Regions from separate parts of the Homo sapiens genome. Here region 2 is linked to region 1. The links are contacts of gene promoters, found by promoter capture Hi-C in human tissues and cell types (Jung and others, 2019). All regions are on one chromosome and are shown on one strand. The core of a region is centred on a gene start or on the middle of the fragment in contact, and the rest is flanking DNA. Distances in the headings are between cores, read along the strand shown. Region 1 holds the start of ZNF714 (zinc finger protein 714). Region 2 overlaps ZNF257 (zinc finger protein 257).

What was found. Contacts are between HindIII fragments. The study calls those that stand out against the background at their distance.
Region 2: a contact is called between a fragment that was not itself captured here and the fragment with the promoter of ZNF714 in region 1, in 1 of the 25 tissues and cell types used here (hippocampus).

The regions. Positions count from the first base shown.
Region 1 is chr19:21,080,134-21,083,484 of GRCh38, reverse strand. It overlaps ZNF714 (zinc finger protein 714), which reads right to left and starts at 1,282. Exons shown (of 5, transcript NM_182515.4): 1 at 1,137-1,282. RefSeq lists an enhancer at 794-943. The HindIII fragment of the contact is 9,806 bases long and covers 1-3,351 here.
Region 2 is chr19:22,090,663-22,094,118 of GRCh38, reverse strand. It overlaps ZNF257 (zinc finger protein 257), which reads right to left. Exons shown (of 4, transcript NM_033468.4): 4 at 2,639-3,456. Among named protein-coding and RNA genes, the nearest start is that of ZNF257, 40 kb to the right of the region's middle. The HindIII fragment of the contact is 8,109 bases long and covers 1-3,456 here.

The sequences.
Region 1 (3,351 bases), core at 33-2,532:
GACGGGAGGTTAGATTTAAGACAGTGCTTGGGACACAGTTGAAAAATGCACCAGAAAATCAGTTCCCCATGGAGTGTGAAAATAATTAAGCGGCGGGAAATTAGACTGAGGTGTCTCTAGTCCCTGGATTCCTACTTTTAAAAAAATCTGGCTGGGCGCGGTGGCTCACGCCTGTAATCCCAGCACTTTGGGGAGGCCGTGGAGGGCAGATCACCTGAGGTCGGGAGTTCGAGACCAGCCTGACCAACATGCAGAAACCCGTCTCTACTAAAACCACAAAATTAGACGGGCGTGGTGGCGCATGCCTGTAATCCCAGCTACCTGGGAGGCTGAAGCATTGGATCGCTTGAACCCGGGAGGCAGAGGTTACGGTGAGACAAGATCGCCCCATTGCACTCCAGCCTGGGCAACAAGAGCGAAACTCCATCTTAAAAAAAAAAAATCTAACTGAGGTGCATTTTTAGTAAATTACTACATTGAGAGAAACAAAATTCATCCTTAACCAACTATAAACTGCCAATTAACATCTAATTACATAACCAGGAAATTTTCACCTTTATTTTACAAATTAAGAAACTATGTATCTGAACCTAACCAATTACTGAATTTGGTTTTCTTCATCATGCTGTTTATAAAAGTCTTTACTTCAAGCCCCGCCCATAAACCATAAATTACAAACCACAGCTGGGTGCTCCACAATTTTTGAATCACGCTTTGATTAAATGCTTTAGTGTTTTAACGGTGACTCCCATACATTTTCAACAGAAGAGGAACTGGAACCCCACGGACCCATTCATAAACCCGCACCCCGAGTCAGGATTCTACCCCTGGGACCCTCCAGTGGTCCCTGCACAATCCGGGAGAGACGCGCCGCTGAGGGTCCAGAGCTGCCCTGAGAGGACTCCAGGTCAGGGCCCAGTCACTGCGCAGGGAAAAGACAGGACGCCCGGGATCCCGCAGTCAGCGCAGCCGCCATCTTATGGCTGAAGGGGACTGAGGCCGAGCTGAGCAAGGAGAACTCCGGGCGCAGATTGTAGAGTTGACTGCGGGGAGGCCTAAGTCCCACCACAGCCACTTCCCACCGCTTACAACCCGCCCCTTCCCCTCTCTCGGGATGTCGGACCCGGCACTCTCACCATTTCTAGGCTTCCGGGGTACCTGGCGTCTTAGCTGTGGATCTCTCAATACCTGCAGGTCACAGGGCCACAGAGGCTGGGCCTCTGCGAGCAGAGGACACAGGGCAGTGAAGGCGAGACCTGCAGCTCCAGCTGCAGCGAGAGACAAAGGCCCCGCCACATCCCCGAAGCCGTCCTGTCCGCTCCAGCTGCAGGCCTGATTGGACGGTTCCCAACCCAGCGTCGCTGATTGGATAACTTTTAAAACCCCACCTTCTCGTGCCCTGAGTGACAGAAGATGTGATCAGTTGCTGGGCTGAGTGAAGAAAGGGTGACAGCCTAGGCTGCAGCCTTCTCAGGCAGGGCTTCCTCCCAGAGCTGAGCCAGGCCCACCCCAGAGGGAATTTGCCTTTAAACTTGTGTGTAAAGTCATATGCATTTATAAATAATATATGGCTCTTCACAAAGGAAAAAATATAATTTTATAATAACAATTATTTTAAAATTTCAGATTTTATGACCTTCCTGGCTTCTTTCTGGTCTTTGAGCAGGCAGGCTGAGATTTTAGAAAGGAGGTAATCCTCTGAAATAAAATGTGAGCCATATGTGAATTTTAAGTTTTCTAGTAGCCAAACTTGAAAAAGAAACAAGAACAGGTTGAATTGATTGTAACAATTTAATTAACCCAATATATCAAAAAAATTTTCATTTTAATGTGTGAGAAATATGTAATTATTAATAAAGTATATAAATATTTGGAACTAAATCTTTGAAACTAACTCTGTATTTTACCTTTCTAGCATCGCACTTCAGACCAGGCGCCACACATGGCCAATAACTGCCACATTGAAGTGCAGCTCTGATGTCAGCGGTGTGAAGGGCCCAAGCAAACCTTTTCTGCCAGAGGTGAAGGAAGAGCCTCTCCCTACCAACATCTCTCTTCCGTTCCGGGGGTGGAACAGATAGTGGCCAAAGAAAGAGGAGACGGCAGCAGGAATAAAATAATTACAAGTAAAGCACTGCTGGATGAGATCACAGGCGCGCGCCACCATGCTCGGCTAATTTTTTGTATTTTTAGTAGACACGGGGTTTCACCATGTTGGCCAGGCTGGTCCTGAACTCCTGACCTCAGGTGATCTGCCCGCTTTGGCCTCCCAAAGTGTTGGGATTACAGGCGTGAGCCACCGCACCCAGCCTCAAAATGTTTTTTCTTTCTTTTTTTTTAATTTTAAAAAATGATGGGAACATGTCAAAGGGAGCCAGCCTGAAAGAACTCCCAATGGTCCATCCTGGAACAATGTTAGCATCCAAATGAATAATTAGAGCACTGACCTATAAAATAAATCAAGTCAAATAAATAAATACCCATGCATTTACACTGATACACAAAAAACTTTAAATAAATAAAAAAGAAAAAAGGATAGGGAAATTTTTTTTTACAGAATTCCAAATACTAATCAACATAGATAAAATGCTAAAGAAACCATCACAAAACCACCAGTTATTATTGTATCCAAGGTTAACTGAGGAGTGTAAAAATTGTAAATAACACTTAAAAAATAAGCATTGTATTTGCATAGCACCAAAGTATCTGACTAAATTGTACCCTTCAGTTTTAAAGCAACCTATCACTATTAAAAGCAACAATTATGACTCTTTGTTACTGGATTTATAATATGTAGATGTAAAATTGTAAAAGCACCACAAAAGATCAACGAATAAAATAGAATCGCCCAGGCACGGTGGCTCACGCCTGCAATCCCAGCACTTTGGGAGTCCGAGGTGGGTGGATCAAGAGGTCAGGAGTCCGAGACCATCCTGGCTAACAAGGTGAAACCCTGTCTCTACCAAAAATACAAAAACTTACCTGGGTGTGATGCCGCACGCCTGTATTCCCAGCTACTCGGGGGGCCGAGGCAGGAGAATCGTTTGAACCCGGGAGGCGGAGGTTACAGTGAGCCGAGATCGCGCCACTGCACTCCAGCCTGGCGACAGAGGGAGACTCTGTCTCAAAAAAAAAAAAAAAAAAAAAAAGAGCTGCCTGGGCAACATAATAAGACCCCATCTCTACAAAAAAAAAAAAAAAAAAAAAAAATTAATTAGCCACTGTAGTGGTGTGTACGTGAAGTCCCATTTACCAAGGAGGCTGAGAGCTAAGAATTTTGAGGTTTGATTGAGCTGCACTCTGGCCAAGATGACAGAGCTGTCTACAAATACATACACACATGTGTAAAAT
Region 2 (3,456 bases), core at 184-2,683, 1.0 Mb before region 1:
AAAAAAGTCATATAAAAGAATATGGGCTGAGCGCAGTGGCTCATGCCTGTAATCCCAGTACTTTGGGAGGCCGAGGCGGATCTCAAGGTCCGGAGTTTGAGACCAGCCTGACCAACATGGTGAAACCCCGTCTCTACTAAAAATACAAAAGTTAGCCGGGCATGGTGGTGTGCACCTGTAATCCCAACTACTCAGGAGGCTGAAGCAGGAGAATCGCTTGAACCTGGGAGGAGGAGGTGGCAGTGAGTTGATATCATGCCAGTGCACTCCAGCCTGGGTGACGGAACGAGACTCCATCTCAAAAAAAAAAAAAAGAGTGGAATTTCTCCAAATTGTTTTATCAAGATGTAAAATAAATATTATTCCAAATTTCAGATCCACAGGTCATTGTACTGTTTTGCCACATTCAACATTCACACTTAAAAATATAAGATTCTGCCAGTCACAGTGGCTCACGCCTATAATCTCAGCACTTTGGGAGGCCGAGGCGGGTGGATCACCTGAGGTCAGGAGTTTGAGACTAACCTGGCCAACATGGCGAAACCCCATATCTACTAAAAATACAAAAATTAGCTGGGCGTGGTGTAATTCCAGCTACTTGGGAGGCTGAGGTAGGAGAATCGCTGGAATCTGGGGGATGGAGGTCACAGTGAGCCGACATTGGGCCACTTCACTCCAGCCTGGGAGAGAGAGTGAAACTCTGTCTCAAAAAAAGAAAAAAAAAAAGATTCTGCATAGAAACATAAGTTGTGCTATAAATATATCATAGAAAATTAAATTTAAAATTGTTCATTTACCATTAACTCTATTTAGAATCTAATTTCTGAAATATTTTTACAAATTTTATATTTGCCATGCTTTTTGCAAGAATAAAACTTTTTTTTTTTACAAAGAAAAAGCTAACTGATGTAATCTTTTCACTTGTTAACAGTGTATGTCTATTCTCTTAATTGACTAATCTGAAAGTTTTATTGATAAGCAAATTCTTCAGTTAAAACCAATTTTTCAATGCATTAAAAATACCAACTTTCTCATGAGAACCCACAAACTACCATGTAAAATGACATGGCATGAAGACAACAATGAGAAAACTGTAGTCATAACACAGTAAAAGAAGAAAGACTGTGATGCATATATAGTTGGAATACACTAAGTAAGACAAAACTGAAGATCAGTAGAAAATAAAAGCAGCAGAATTTGTGTTTAAATTCAGCAAGTCAGCTTTGCAGCCTGAAAATGTCCTCTCCACATGATGAATCAATGTTATTTCTTCACCATTGCTATTTTCCATCTCTGACTTGAAGTTACAAACTAACTCCAGCAAAAATATTTATGACTTATTATAAAGCATGTTTTACTCAGAAGAACTGTCATATTTGTTTGCTACATTTATATGTAAAAACATCCTCATGACTTATGAAGTCTCCCTAGTACTTACCAAAGCAAATTAGCTCACTCAATAGATTTACTTATGTCAATTATAAAAAGTGAAAGAAACAATAAAGAAAATTAGCCTTATACAGGTTTCTCCAATAAAACAAAAATCAAACGTTAAAATATAACAATATAACTATTATATAAAAACTAACTTATATAAAAATATAACTAATTTTGTAATTACATCTAAAAATTATTTTGTGTGCACTCTTAAATTTCATAAAAATCATTCTTATAATCCCTGACCAGCTCACATAATGAGTACTTCATAAAATACAAAACAAGAACATTATGGGTCTAGCATGAGTACCAGACAAGTAAAAACAGAGAATGTGCATAGGGAGATTCTGAACTATAAGCCCTAACATTTTATAGCAATGAATTCAATACAATGCACAGAGTATAGATTTGCTTTCAACATTTTCGAGGTTTTTAGTTTTCTAATAAGTCACCTTATTAAAATAATTTGTTTTGTTCCAATATTGCTTTCTCCTTCCAAAAATGGGTACAAACTCATACTCATACACACTTACTTCATAATTTTCTTACACCTAAGGTTTATCTTTAGAGTAATATATGTATATGTTTAACTCTATGTAAATCAAAACTAAAAGCCTATATGTGTTTGCAGGCAGAGATAAATCATGTTCAAAGAAAAATATGTAACAAATTCTTTAAATATTTATTCAGTACTTAGAAATGTATCAATTTTATTTATACTTCTATATAAATTTTATTATGACCATAAAAATGACCCTGTAGTCAGAACAATTGCAAATTTTAAAATAAAGTACTTTTAATATTTTAAAATAACAATATTTTTATTTTACTAATCAAATTGTTTGTAATAAAAAGGATAAATGCTAGAGGTGATGGATGCCTCATTTATCCTGATGTAACTATTATATATTATATGCCTGTACCAAAATATGCCATATATGGCATAAATATATACACATACTGTGTAACCACAAAATTAAAAAGAATAAATTTAAGAAAAAAAGGATAAAAATGTAACCTATGGGAAAAATATTTTTTAACTTATTTGCAATTTGAAGCCATTGGCAGAAGAGATTACTAGAGGTGTTATTCCACTATGTTGCCAAATAGCATATTGTTACCATATTTTACCTACACCCTTGAGTAAGGTGGGGTATGTTAAAGTTAGTGGAATAATAATACTCCACTGAATGCACAAGTCTTTTTTTTTTTTTTTTTTTTGAGACGAAGTCTTGCTCTTGTTGCCTAGGCTGGAGTGCAATGTCGTGATCTTGGCTCACTGCAACCTCTGCCTCCTGGGTACACGTGATTCTCTTGCCTCAATCTCCCAAATAGCTGGGATTTCAGGCACCCACCACCATGCCTGGCTAATTTTTTGTATTTTCAGTAGAGACAGGGTTTCACCATGTTGGCCAGGCTGGTTTCAAACTCCTGGCCTCAATTGATCCGCCCGCCTCAGCCTCCCAAAGTGTTGGGATTACAGGCGTGAGCTACTGTGCCCGGCCTGAACGTACAATAGTCTTAACGTGGTAAAAGAAAATATTTAATTATAAATTAAGTCCACAAATAATCTAAAAATTTTAAAATGTACTGCATTTTATTAAATAAAAGTACAATCACTAACATTATATGGTACTATTTTAATTTTAACTTACATTTAACTAAAATTAAAAATGTTTTTCTCTCATAACATGAGCAACTACTTCATACATCACTAAGTTAACCACAAAGAACCTCTTCACTTAGACTCTTATGCATCTTATATTTCAGTGTCCTTACTATTTTATAGAAGAGGTCGTATATAATTCCCACCTAATAAAGTATCTCTCATATCTCTGATGCAGCAATAGTTGATCACATGCTTTCACAGGTGAATACAATAGAAATGAAGAAACAGCATGAAGTAATTTGAGAGTTGACTTACATCATTATTTACTTTTAAAAAGCTTTATAATTTTATCAAAAAAGTATACTTGAATTTAATTATGACTTCTCAAAGAAATGTCTACTCATTTTAAA